Linked DNA regions of Homo sapiens: regions 2, 3, 4 and 5 are each linked to region 1. Evidence: promoter capture Hi-C in 16 types of primary human blood cells and fetal thymus (Javierre and others, 2016). All regions are on one chromosome and are shown on one strand. The core of a region is centred on a gene start or on the middle of the fragment in contact, and the rest is flanking DNA. Distances in the headings are between cores, read along the strand shown. Region 1 holds the start of MTERF1 (mitochondrial transcription termination factor 1). Region 2 holds the start of STEAP2-AS1 (STEAP2 antisense RNA 1). Region 3 overlaps VPS50 (VPS50 subunit of EARP/GARPII complex). Region 4 holds the start of CDK14 (cyclin dependent kinase 14). Region 5 overlaps SAMD9 (sterile alpha motif domain containing 9).

What was found. The method cuts DNA at HindIII sites, captures the fragments that hold promoters and counts their contacts. A CHiCAGO score of 5 or more calls a contact.
Region 2: the fragment with the promoter of STEAP2-AS1 here is called in contact with the fragment with the promoter of MTERF1 in region 1 in 1 of 17 cell types (monocytes); the score reaches 5.1 in monocytes.
Region 3: a fragment that was not itself captured here is called in contact with the fragment with the promoter of MTERF1 in region 1 in 2 of 17 cell types (total CD8 T cells and fetal thymus); the score reaches 5.8 in total CD8 T cells.
Region 4: the fragment with the promoter of CDK14 here is called in contact with the fragment with the promoter of MTERF1 in region 1 in 1 of 17 cell types (total B cells); the score reaches 5.2 in total B cells.
Region 5: a contact is called between a fragment that was not itself captured here and the fragment with the promoter of MTERF1 in region 1, in 1 of 17 cell types (fetal thymus). The highest score is 6.2, in fetal thymus.

The regions. Positions count from the first base shown.
Region 1 is chr7:91,879,366-91,882,015 of GRCh38, forward strand. It overlaps MTERF1 (mitochondrial transcription termination factor 1), which reads right to left and starts at 1,337. Exons shown (of 3, transcript NM_006980.5): 1 at 1,292-1,337; 2 at 690-748. The coding sequence starts at 718. LOC112267986 (a long non-coding RNA gene) reads left to right here and starts at 1,437. Exons shown (of 2, transcript XR_002956514.2): 1 at 1,437-1,499. The HindIII fragment of the contact is 3,297 bases long and covers 1-2,093 here.
Region 2 is chr7:90,210,326-90,212,975 of GRCh38, forward strand. It overlaps STEAP2-AS1 (STEAP2 antisense RNA 1), which reads right to left and starts at 1,310. Exons shown (of 3, transcript NR_110029.2): 1 at 975-1,310. STEAP2 (STEAP2 metalloreductase) reads left to right here and starts at 1,415. Exons shown (of 6, transcript NM_001244944.2): 1 at 1,415-1,720. RefSeq lists a silencer at 1,518-1,577. The HindIII fragment of the contact is 5,296 bases long and covers 1-2,650 here.
Region 3 is chr7:93,240,699-93,243,348 of GRCh38, forward strand. The region is part of intron 2 of VPS50 (VPS50 subunit of EARP/GARPII complex); the gene reads left to right. Among named protein-coding and RNA genes, the nearest start is that of VPS50, 9.7 kb to the left of the region's middle. The HindIII fragment of the contact is 916 bases long and covers 843-1,758 here.
Region 4 is chr7:90,594,999-90,597,648 of GRCh38, forward strand. CDK14 (cyclin dependent kinase 14) reads left to right here and starts at 1,323. Exons shown (of 15, transcript NM_001287135.2): 1 at 1,323-1,720. The coding sequence starts at 1,630. RefSeq lists silencers at 931-1,130, 1,151-1,460, 1,651-1,850, 1,911-1,960. The HindIII fragment of the contact is 4,165 bases long and covers 568-2,650 here.
Region 5 is chr7:93,114,415-93,117,064 of GRCh38, forward strand. It overlaps SAMD9 (sterile alpha motif domain containing 9), which reads right to left. Exons shown (of 3, transcript NM_017654.4): 2 at 381-481. Among named protein-coding and RNA genes, the nearest start is that of SAMD9, 2.2 kb to the right of the region's middle. The HindIII fragment of the contact is 1,469 bases long and covers 593-2,061 here.

The sequences.
Region 1 (2,650 bases), core at 87-2,586:
ATAATGCCATGTATATTAAAGGCGGGGAGGGGGACGTTAATATATACAGAGGGGGAAAGTGGAATGACACTTATTTCTGAAAGATTATTAGAGGCTATGTACTACTTCTGAAATACTGGGACTTTATTTAATGAATATGTGTTACTTTGCAGTCAGATGAAAAAATTTAAACAAGTAAAACTGGCCTTTGGTGTGAAAAACAATGGAAAATACAAATTATCTTTATCTATTTTTCGGTTTCTAGTACCAAAAAAGTCACACTTCAAAATTCTCCATGATGCTTTACTCTTAGCAACGGATCTCCATTCAAAATACTCATAATATCTAGTAGGGTAAATGAACATCTAAATAGCCTAATACAAGAAAGTTAGCAACTTTCCTCACGTACAAATTTCAAAAATGGTACCTATTCAAAAATTGACTTCGATCTATTTCTCAAATTGACTTTTTAATTAACCAAAACCATTATCCAAAGGGCTAATGTTCAAACTTAACAAACACTGAAAATTTCTATGCTTGTAGTATGAGGGGTCTAAAAAAAGATTTACGTTCGCCTCTGCCCCACAACTGGCCTGTTAAAAAGGCTGTTAATGGAAATAACTAATCACTGGCCCTAAAATACCACATTCCAGCTGGTCTTCTTTTGATACAGCAAGCTAAGTTTGGAGATCTTTACATGCATTTCTCACCTTGTTTGTCCTAAGGAAAGGCTCTGCATCCCTCCAGAAAGGCTGGAGAACAGCTATCTCTGGAAATGACACACACACACAAAAAAAAGGCAAAATATTTCAGGCCTTCCTAATACAAAATAAGAGATCGATCCCAGCTAACGTTCTCGTTGCATTATGTTCTCGTGAGATGCATTACCTCTTGCAAACAACATTTCTCAGACATACAGAAAAGAAAACGGCAAGTACATGCCTACATATGATGGGAAAAGGTAGCGGAATCACGAATACGTTTTGTACCAAAGCTAAGTGCTTCATATATATTGTCTCGCTTTACTCCCCACAACAATTTAAAAGGTAGGCATAAGCCTTAAAATTACAAAATCTGAAACAGCGCCGAGCTCCCATACTAGCCTGCCTTCGCTAGCTGAAGCATTAGGGTTCGAACCCAGGTGGGTCTTTCTTAACTCAAAACCAAGGTAATTCCACACCGAAGGCTCTTTCCATCCCTCTTCCTCCTCCAAAGACAAATCTGCAAAGGGCTGCACTGTACAGCAGTCACCCACACCCACTTCTTAACAAAAAGAAAGGAAAGCACAGCCTCACCACCTTCCCAATCTCACCCTGAACTGCACCCATCCACTGTAGTTCGCTTTTACTTCCGCCTCTGGGGTCCGGAGCGGCTAGGAGGAGCGGAAGTGGAAAAGACTAACTTCCGGCCTCGGGTCGCGCGCAGAGGTGATGTCGTTGGTCCTGCGCCCCCTCGTGGCGGTACTTCAGCCCTTCGCAGCCCGACGCTAGGGGCCTGGCAGGGGGCAGCAAGAGACCGCGGTGAGCGCGGGGTATTGAACGCCAAAGAAGGGGTTTGGAGGGTGGGGTGGGGCCTGGGACTCCCAGTCGCCTGGGCAGATGTCCGTGGGGAACTGTAAGGCATCTTATAGGGATCCTACAGGGGGCATCCACTGCCGGCCGACGACACGTGGTGGAAAAGTAGCTATTATTTACATGCGTGTTGCAGTTTTTGATAATGCGATTGCTGCTGCTAATGTGACTAACGCGATGCCGATGAACATCTCGGCGTTTTTTGGTGCAGGATAAGCGGGTGTAGACTCTGTCTGTTTAGTCCCAGATTCTCCTCCTTTAATGAACTACCGTGGAAATCCTGGAGTGTCACTGCTGGTCTGAATTCAGCATCCGCCTTCAGGCTGGAAATCAATTCTAGTATACTTCGATTTCCTTACTTGCAGTTCGAATTCAAATATGATTCTTTTGACATTGTGAGGGTTTGCGCTATTTAAAGAATGGAGGCAACCGAAACCTCATCTCCACAGTGGATGCATTTTTGCTCCCTCCCGAGGCGTTGCCTTAAGCCACGCGGTCCTGTCAGCCTCACCTGCCTAGTGATGGTGACAATGGAAGAGATAAAGCTTCAATTCAAGGCACTTCTCCTGTGACCATCAAAAGAAAGATAATATCTACATTAATGAATTAATTGTGTCTGTCGAGTTATCCTCAGGAGACGATGGTGATTTGGTCCTTAAAAAAACACAGGATCAACAGGATTGACCCTGAATTCTACAAAGAGGAAAAATTTCAGGCATTACTAACTCCTCCATGTACAAGCCTAATGATGTAATTTTCTGGCCGGGCGCGATGGCTCATGCCTGTAATCCCAGCACTTTGGGAGGCCAAGGCGGGAGGATGGCTTGAGGCCAGGAGTTCGAGACCAGCCTGGCCAACATGGTGAAACCCCATCTCTACAAAAAGTACAAACATTAGCCAGGCGTGGTCACAGGTGCCTGTAGTCCCAGCTACTTGGGAGGCTAAGGTGGGAGAATCACCTGAGCCTGGGAGGTTGAGGCTGCAGTGAGCCGTGATTGTGCCACTACACTCTAGCCTGGGTGACACAGTGAACCTTGTCTCAAGAAAGAAAAAGAATTTTCTTTATCCCATTTCTTTCTCCTTTTTCTTTTTTTTTTTTT
Region 2 (2,650 bases), core at 60-2,559, 1.7 Mb before region 1:
AAAATATATGGAAAAGCAATATACTTTCCGTTAACTGCTAAGATTCATGAATTTTCTCCACAAGTTCTCCAGAGGAACTACTAGAAAAAACTCCACGAATCTCATTATTTGACAGTTTTGTTGAAGTGAAATTATTAAAATTGATATTAGATTTAATGACTTGTTTCCAGTAACCAAAATGGAAAGTATTCTACCAGCTGTCGATGGTTCCACACCCTGACACATCGTTAAAACCTTAGCTTCTGCCTAAACTTTAAACCTTAATAATATTTGGCGGTAGGGGAGGGGTTACATTTCAAGTCAAACAAAGGATGTATTTCCAAAGCAGCATTTACAAAGGTTAATCTGTGTATGGACTACAAAGGGGAAAGTGCAGTGCCCCAGTGATCGATCTAAGACCCCCCTCTCGTTGTTGTTGTTGTTGGGTTTTTTTGGTCTGGTTAATAAACCACCTAGAGGGATAATTTTTAAACTTAATTTGTTGAAATGGTACTTTACTAATGTATGAAAAAAATTTCCCCAAATTTGAGAATTTTTGGTAAGTTGATTTTATATTTGGGAATAAAGATCTCTTGCTTCTTCTACTGACACCTTCTACACAAAAGATAAAAGGTACTTTTACTTGGTAATCCGCAGGGAGAAAATTTACAGAAACCCAGAGCCAAAGGTGCTCTCAGGGGATCCCCTGAAACATTCAAAGCCATTGCGGCCCCAGAAGGTAAATGGCTTTCGCAGGAACACAGGTCTCCTGACTCACGGCCTAACCTTCCTTTCCCCCACACCAAAGCTCGCGCGGCACCAGCTAGAGTGAAGGTCAAAGTCAACAGAATAATCTCTGCAGTCCAGGGTCTGTGAGGGTCCTCCTATCCGAGGGAGTTTTCATGAAAGGGCATTTCCGAACATTTTATTCCAAGGACACAGTCTAGTCAAAAGACGTTTGGGATAGGGTAAACATGAGGCAAAAGAACACTTACAAAAGAAAAAAGCGCAGTTTCTTGGAGGCTTGTCAGAAGCTAAGACTGGGGAGATGAGAACCAGGGCCCTTGGCGAGAGTTGGGGTGGGAATCGCGTAAGAAAAGCAATTTCTAGAGCGGAAAGGTGACCCCACATTACAAAAAGAAATGGAGTAGAAAAATAGGCTTGACTATTCTAAAGCTGCTTCAGAAAGAATCTCCGGAAGACCACGGAGGAACCCCGCAGGGGAGCCAGGCGGATACTCAGCCGCTCGCGGTAGAAGGGCGCGCAAAGCTGCGGAGCCGCGTGTGTGGAGCTCCCCAGTGCACTCACTGCTGGCTCCCCCTCGGTGCTCTGGGCCCTTCCCAGCTCCCTCCACACAGCCCGGCTCCCTTCACACACCCCCGCCCCCTCCGAGCTCCCCGACTCCTCCCCGCGCTCCACGGCTCTTCCCGACTCCAGTCAGCGTTCCTCGGGCCCTCGGCGCCACGAGCTGTCCGGGCACGCAGCCCCTAGCGGCGCGTCGCTGCCAAGCCGGCCTCCGCGCGCCTCCCTCCTTCCTTCTCCCCTGGCTGTTCGCGATCCAGCTTGGGTAGGCGGGGAAGCAGCTGGAGTGCGACCGCCGCGGCAGCCACCCTGCAACCGCCAGTCGGAGGTGCAGTCCGTAGGCCCTGGCCCCCGGGTGGGCCCTTGGGGAGTCGGCGCCGCTCCCGGGGAGCTGCAAGGCTCGCCCCTGCCCGGCGTGGAGGGCGCGGGGGGCGCGGAGGTGAGCGGGTCGGGGAGGAGCGCGAAAGAAGGTAGCGGCGGCGGAGTTGAGGGTCAAGATGCAGTCTGCGCCACGCGCTGCATCCATCCTCCCCGATTCTGCGCCCTCACCGGGCGTCCGCCCTGAGCTGCGGGGTCCCTCATCTCCTGGCACCTTAAGGTGGAAAGTGAGAAGGGTGGAGAAGGGTGTCTGTTCCACTGATTCCCCCTCCTCCTCCTCTTGGTTCCTAGAGCTAAGGGCAAGTCCTGAGGTTGGGCCCAGGAGAAAGAAGGCAAGGAGACATTGTCCCAGGTAGGATGTGTCCCAGCAGGAAAGGACAGGCAGGTTACTTTCGCCCCCTTGATAGTCTCCCTGCTACTTTGGGTTGATGCAGGGCATTTCATGGAAGATCATGCAGTGCTGCTTTGCGAACAGGTATTTCTAGCAGTCATTTGGTTTATTTCCCAGTAATGTAATCGTGGTGTTTAGGCCATTTCTGTTAGAAAGTAATTGGCCTCTTCTTTGACTGTCCTAAATTATCTTTGAACCCTGTGTTCAGCCTCAGCCAAAACTTGTTGAAAATTATGCCCTAAAAATCTTGCTCTTAAAATAGAGCAGAGAGATAAAGAGCATTTTTGTTGGAAGATTTCCATTTATTATCTCTCCCACCCCGTGGAGAAGGATTGGTGTCAGTTTTTACTCCTCGGGCAGTTAGTTTTTTAGATGGAAAGACAGTCCAGGCCATAGTTAATTATCGCTCATCAGTATAGGAGAAAAAGAATTCAGACTCCTGCCCCACCCCCACCCCCACCCCCAACCTCCTGACTTAGATTCTGGTCCTTTTAACAGCCCCGCTGCTTGGAACCCTTTTTGTTTTCTAAACCACCTCCCCATCCTTCCTTTTCTCCACTTTATTATTTCTTCATTTTATTGATCTGTTTATTTTTTCTT
Region 3 (2,650 bases), core at 51-2,550, 1.4 Mb after region 1:
TTTGTTTTCTGCATCAGGCATTTGAATACACAGGGTGTGCTTCTCTTGATCAGCAGTTTAAGGCCTCTCCTTACACCTCGGTGTCAGCTCCTTAGGAGGATGATTTCTCATCTCTTTCAGGTGCCTTACCTGCTAAAGTGAATTTTGTATTTACTGCATTGTTTTTATTTTGGGTTAGGCTGAAACATATTCTCCAAATGCAATAAAATTATAACCAACCCTTTTGCATGAAATGGTTCAGACAAAAACTTAAGAAAAGCATTCCGTATAGTTTTATGTAATGTTATTAAAAATTAATGACTATGAAAAGGTTGGGAAACAAGAGATAGCCATAAATCCTAATTAATTGACAATAATTCTCTTTATTTCTTTGAGTTAAGAAAAAGATTATCATGCATTATGAACATACCTTGAATTAGATTGTATTACATATTGCAGAATCAATGTCAAATTGATGAGTGAGCCTCTTTAAAAAAATACATTACAGTCTTAACAAGAACTTTCTGTTGTGTTTCCACCATGAGCCATGATGTTTTCCCAGTACTGGTTGGTAGTGAATATGGTGATCTCATTACAAAGTCTTCTTATTAAATGTACACCCCTAGCTCCATCAGTGACCAGTGCTGTCTGTACTTTTAGGATAACTGGCCTTGGGTGGAGTGGCCAGTCTGGGATCACAAGGTCAGCAAATATAAATGGTTCAGGTGAAGAGTAAGCCTAAAGCACTGGTCTCTTTAGCACATACTAAGAAGCTAAGTTAGTTAAATAATAAAACAGTTAATAGTAAAAAATGTATTGATGCTATAAGCTTACATTTAACCTTACACTAAGAAATCCCTACAAGCTTCATCTGCCTGTTTGTTTTTTCTGTGTTCTCCTATAGCATAACAAATGATGGAGGGTGAGCAGAGCTTCTGCCTTCTTTCTGGGTGGTTCTGAGAACATGAGAGTTGCTGGGTCCAGAGAGTGGCAAAGCTCCAGTCAGTAAACTGAGTCTTTGGATGAGGTTTGAAGTCAGTACTGAGATCAGGAGTTAAGAAGACTCATATTCAGAAATTCCCTACACAGCATAGCTTGATGTAGCTTTAATGTTCAGTATTTTTTCACAATTTAGATAAGACTTTATACTTAGATCATAACACATATATTTTAATGATTTATTTTTGTATAATTGCTTTGAAATTAATGTTGTTGCTAGTTCTTGATGACCTGAAATTTGATGTAATTGAAGAAGATCTTTAAGATCTTTTAAAATTAAGATTAAAAGCATTTTAACAAAATGGAAAATGTTAATTCAAATGATTATTTTGAAATAACTTTTGCTTTAAATATAAAATTAATGTATGCTCTAAACAGAAAACATGGTAAACGGAAAAAGGTATCTTAAAAAAAAAATCACAAAAATCACCAACACTGTCAAGGTTAACATTGCCTACTGGTCTTTTCCCTATGCATATTCCACAAATTTATTGAGTTTCTATGTGCTAGAGATACTTTCTAGGGATTGGCAGTATAGCAGTGAAAAGACAAAAGTTCTCTCCAAAAGTCAAAACTTCCCTGCTGTCAGACAGCGAGCTTACATTCAAGCAGGGGTAAGGCGATTACAGATTATAATACTGTGAAGGAAACAGGGCGATGAGATAAACTCCTTGAAATTGGCAGTTATTTTACAGGAAGTAGTCAGTATAGCTTTTTATAATGGTATTATAAGTTATACAACCTTTTAAAAATGGTATCATACTCTAGAAATTATTTGGAAGCTTGGGTTTTTAACTTGGTGATATATATATATATATAACATAGAAAATTCTCACAGTATATTCTAGGTTTAAAAAGCAAGGTACCCATTAGTTTTGCTTAGGGGAGTACTCTTTGAACTTAACAATTTGTGCTATTTAAGTAGTCACTGTTAATTCTTATATGGAAAACTTATAAACATTAACTTCATTTAATAGCTCTGCCTCACTTATAACTGTAGGTACAACTTTTAAAAAACATATGCCTGGTCTTCAGGAATCGGCTCCTTTCTTTTCATAGTATCTTTCTAAGTTAGGACAGGGAATTGAGAGATTTCAGTGGCATTTTCAAGAAAGAAATAGGTTAGTTTGGGTTCTGTTACATGAAAAGGTTCCAGTATAAAGGATAAGTAGGAGAAAAATGTTAGGATAAATGATGGCTGTTTAAGTTTAAAATGGTCAAATATTGGCAAATTGTATGTGCTTCAACTTGCTAGAAAAAGGAGGGTAGTGAAGGAGAACTGAAGGGCACTAGGTGTGCTTGATAAGCCAGATGGTATTATTTATTTATTTATTTTAGAACTATATAAATTCAAAGTGGGAAGAAACTGTATAAACCATCTGGTACAATTTCTGCATTTTATAGACAATCTGATCCTGTGCCCGATTTTAAGAGCAGATGCAAGTCAAATGGTAATCTATATACTGGAAATTTGGAATTTGGGTGGATAAAATAGTATAGAAAAGTAGAAAACATTTAAGGTTCTTTTCAGAACTTGCTAGAGGAAAGGAAACTTTTAGACAGATTTCAGGAATTTTAGCTTAAATAGCTCAGAGCCAAGATCAGTGGTGCCCAAACTTTGCTGTACATTTAGAATCAACAGTCCCCAGGCCATGGCCAATTCCAATTAAAT
Region 4 (2,650 bases), core at 73-2,572, 1.3 Mb before region 1:
AGGAAGGCAGGGGGCTAGTTTTTAAGATAAAAATCTTTTAACAAAACATAAACTCCCCAAAATTTCCTACAAGCCAAACAGCATTGTCACACCCTCACAAGCTCTTATTACTTACACAGCCAAATGACTCAAGATTACTAACGTTTCTATTCATAAGGAGTTTGCTGGCCTCAGATCAACACAATCAAGCCCTCCCCCACCTTCCTTCTCTCTCCCCTGGGAGACTGACGTTTGGAACTCACGCCGCACCAGGTTTTTTCAGAATGAAGACGATGTGTGTTCGCTGCTGGAACTGTTTGTCCTGGGATTTTATAAACACCTCCCCCACTCCTTTTTAAAGTTCTGTTTTTGAGGTGGGGGAAAAGGAGGTCGGAATCTGTTTAGCCTTTAAATCTCCCAATTCAGAAATATATTCTAAGAATTTAATAGAAAAAGACCAAGGGCTGTGTCTGCTATTTACTGCAGAACTGGGTATTCCTATCAGAAATCACCTACATGTGTCACCAAGATCAGAGACAAGGATGAGGGAAACAGCATGATCCCTGCCTTCTGGAGGGTTACAGTTGAAGCTTCCGCTGCTTCTGCACTTGACCTCAAAACAAACAAAAAACCCACCGCAAACAACAACAAAAAAATCCAGGCCCACCTTTCCCCTTGGATCTTTCACTTGACAGCTTTCTCGGCCCAAAATAAGGCACCCTACATCTGAATGCATCCCTAAGGCCTTACCGCACCCAGTCCAGGAGGCAGTCCTGGCAGCTGCCCTCCACCGAACTCCGCGCTTTTTCACACACGCTCGTGGAAGGAGAAAACCGCTCAAACAACTGGACTCGGCCCGTTTCCTTTCGGTAACCTCCCCACAGCCCAACACGCTGTCCCCAGACGCTGCCCGCTCCCACCCCGGTCCCTTCGTGATCCTCCCGCGCGCGGGCGGGGCGGGGGAGGAGCGCGGGGGCGGCCGGGAGGGGCGCGGCCGGGAGGGGGCGCCGCCGGGGCGCGAGCCAGACACAGAGGGCCGCGGAGGACGCGGGAGGCGAGCGGGGAGCCGAGGTCGTGCTAGGATCCCGCGCCCAGGGGCCTTCGTCGAGGGAGGGGCGTGGCGGCGGCAGCAGGAGGGCAGCAGGAGCTGTCAGGCTGGCGGTTCCGCGCCGCGGCTCCTTCTGCGCTGCGCCCGCAACTCTGGGCTGAGAACTTCTCCCGCCGGCCCACTCGCCCTCGCCCCGCGCACTCGGCGCCAGGCGACTCCCGCACCTTGTACCCGGCCCGCCCCGCCTCCTCCTTCGGCCGCACCACTCCCCCTGCCGGCCGCGCTTCTCTCCGTTACAAAGGAGGGAAAATGAGCCGGGCGGCGGCGGCGCGGCGCGGGGCCACCACGGCGGCGGCGAGCGCGGCCGCCCCCGGCACCACGTAAACCGCCCCCGCCCGCCCAGCTGCGGCCCAGGCCGGAGCGGAGCCTGCCGTCCTCCGCCTGCCTGCTGCTCGCCTCCCTAGACCTGCGCGTCGCTTCCCGGCCCGCCGAGGAGGTGGTGGAGGAGGAGGCGCCGCTTTCCCCGCGGCGCGCGCCCTCGCCGTTGTCTGAGCTGTGCCTGGACCAGTTTGGGGAAGTTGTCGGGGCTCCGCGTCGCCCAGATGTGTGACCTCATTGAGCCGCAGCCGGCCGAGAAGATCGGCAAGATGAAGAAGTTGCGGAGAACTTTGTCGGAGAGTTTCAGTCGCATTGGTGAGTAGCGCGCTGCCCCCGGCCCCCCCAGCGCCCGCTCCCCTCGGCCTGCGCCCCCGCCGCGTTCCTGGCACCAGCCATGCAGCTGCCAGCGGGGCTGGCGTGGGGTGCGTTGTAGGCGGGGATCGAGGGCACAGTGCTAGGGACCCGGGGGAGGGCAAGGACGTAAAGGAAAGAGACCCCTCTTCCTCAGGATCTGGGGGTTCATTTGTAGATTCTCTCAAGCCTACAATATGGGTTCTCCCCTCCTCCGCCACTAGTGCTCGCCCTTTCGCGCGCGTGGGGGACGGGCGAGGGGACCCCTCGGCCCCCACCGCGCAAGGGGCTGCGCGGCTGCTTGGGCCACTTGTTATTTTTTGCGCACAGGCTTGGATATTGGGCGTTTAGTCAGTAATTTAGCTTTGGAAATTGGTGAAACGTTAGACTGTGCCCTGGTATTGTTTAACGTATCCAACCTAAAGGGAAGTGGGACAGTTACCTTGGGACCTATTGTTCGGTACTTCGGGTCCTGGAAAGCGAGATTTGGGTGTTCAGTCTCGAGGTCTCTGAATCTTCCCGCTGCTGGAGAGAAATGCGCGCTGTGGAGTTGTCTGGACATTTAGGAATGTCTCTCGAACTTGTTCCATTTAATAGAGCTCAGGGGCTGTTGTCTTTAAACCAAACAACAAACCAACTGACCAACAGTGTTTAGGACAGTGACGAATAAATGCATGTCACAGGTTGTAATAGGGTGACAGCAGTATCACGTGGAATGGGTTTGTTAGATTTTGAGTACTGGGCATAGAAAACCCCTTTTAACCTGAAGAGTTAGCTGCCTCCCCTACTGTCACAACTTTCACTAATAACATGTAACTGCCCTGAGCAAGAGAATGCTATAGACACAAAAGATAACCCCTGCGAGTCCCTAGGAAGCTGCCTAGTCTTTGTTTC
Region 5 (2,650 bases), core at 77-2,576, 1.2 Mb after region 1:
TTGTGCACATGTACCCTAGAACTTAAAGTATAGTTTTTTAAAAAAGGAGGAATGACTGAAAATCATGAACCTAATGCCAGTTTAATAAATTGAAAGAAGAATAACAGAATAAAACTGAAATAAGAAGAATGAGAAAAATAAAGATAAGAGCAGGAATTTATAAAGTGGAAAACAAAATGACAAGAGAGACTCAGTGAAGTCCAAGAGCTGTTTAGATAAAAAGTAATAAAATTGACACATCCATGGAATGATTAACCAAAAAATAAAAAAGAAAGGTGGCACAAATAAGCAATATTAGAAACTTTAAAAATGAACCAACTTTAACTGAATAAATTGAAAACTGAGATTAATTGAGCAAATTCTTAAAAAATATAGCTTACCAAACTGACTCTAGAAGAAACCGAAGAAGTCTCACTTCCAGGGTGATGTAGGAGATCACAAAAGGCCACCTATTCACCCACTGCAACCATGAGATCAAAATCTGAAAAATTGCAAAACTCATATTTTTAAGTAATCACAAAGTCATCAATAGACCAGATGACAAGGACTGGATGAACTAAAATTCCAGAGAGGAAAGATCCCTGTCTATGTAAGCTTTGGGGGCATTTGTTGATTTGGGGTTGGGTTTAAGGATTAGACTTGGCCTACCGGGAGGAGGAAAACCAGTGGGGATTTTCATAGTCACAGGGGCGGGTCTAATGAAGTGCAATTAGAAGTGTTCCAAAATGTTTACCGTAATGGAAATGCAAAGTAAAATTACAACAAGATAATACTACATGCCTACCAGAATGGCTAAAATTAAAGACTGTTAATGCCAAATGTTGGTGATGATGTGGAGTCAGTGGAGCTCTCATATGCTGTCTGTGGGAATGTACATTGTTTTAGCCACTTCAAGAAACTATCAGTTTTTGTGAAGTTAAATATATACCTACTCTTTGGATCTGCAATTCTCATGAAAATTATTAAAGTACTGATACAGGCAACAACATGAATGAATATCACATCATACTGTGTGAAAGAAGCCAGTTACAACAGAAAACATATTGTAGAATTCTACTTATATAGTTTAAGAATAGGCAAAAGTAATCTGTCATAGAAGTCAGACTGATGTTGGGGGGTGGATATTTTCTGGGAAGGGGTGATGGAAATATTTTATATCTTGATATGGCTAGCGGTTGCACAGATAAGTACATATTAAAATTTCATAAAGGCTTACCCTTAAGTTTGTTCATTGTATACAAGTTATACTGTATTTAAAAAGCCAATAATGCCTCCAAAATACATTAGAAAATAAAACGGATGAATAAAATAAAAGAGATACTTGCATAAAAAAGATGATGGTGTGTTATGAATCAAGGATAATTGTGAATTCAATGGTATGTGAGGTCCTAAAGTTTTACTAGGTGTTTATTATTGCAGTCTCAGATTATGAACTTTTGACTTCTGCATCCCACTCAGTGTTGATTCAATACTGGTTTTAGAGTTGTCTAAAAACTGACTACACCCTCGTCTAGTAACCATTCTATCTGAGTCACTTTCTTGTATCCATTTACTGAGTCACGTCTACTCCACCCTATGAAAGTATGCTCACTTTTGTTGCACCCACACTATTTAACACATAAAGCAGGGGTCCCCGATTATTGTGCTGCTAGCGTGCGCTGGCTCCTGAGGCCTCATACCTATGGCTCTCATCCCCCATCTCGCCGCTTCCCACCAGTACCCTTTTCCTAGGGTCTCCCTGACTTCCTTCATCAACTTGGACCTTTCACAGTTTTACAGACACAGTCCTTAGTCTCTGGTGATATGTCATAAACTAGATTATGAGACTGGTGAATTAGATGGATTATTTGATTCATGCAAGAACTACATACCATTATATGTGAAAACGTAAAGTCAGGTTCTCATATAAGAGTGTGGGGGATGGAGAACTGGGCCTGAACATTTGGTTGGGAAAGTAAGCAAATAATAAAGAAGTGACTTTTGACTGTTTTCTCTACTAGAGACACTATGAATATTTCAAATGTCATTGAACAGGTTACACTTTCACACTTCTTCCCCTAAAGCTTTTGTCAGATTATTGATAGCTGTGCCTTTCAATACATTATTTTAAAAAAATTGTTGATGATGTCACTCTTGGAGAAAATATATGCCAGCATTCATAGGTATTTATGCCACTGTTCATAGATATTTTACATATTAATGATTTCTTTATACCCTCTCGTTCCAAAATGTTTTTTAGGTAATTTAGAAAGTAATATAGGATCACACATATATTAAAACCCTTAGGTAAAGAAATCATGGGGAAGGCTAAATAAGGGTAGGGGGAGAAAAGGTGAAATGAGGGAGTAAAATTAGTACCTAAAATTACTGGTTTTGATTCCGTATACTTTAAAAACTGACCTGAAAATTTGGTTCTGAGCATCTTAGTAGGAAACACTATTTGTTACTGATTGAACCCACATACATTTTTTAACTCTGGTTGGTGTTAAACTGTAGGGTTTGTTAACTTTTCTAGAAGGGAGTTGAAGGTCAGACCTTTATTCAGAAATGTGATCCTCCAACCGTCTTGCATTATCTTACTGTTTGCTTTGGGGAGAAATTAGACATAAACCTAGTATTTTTGCCAGGAACATAAAGCTGCCTTAATTCC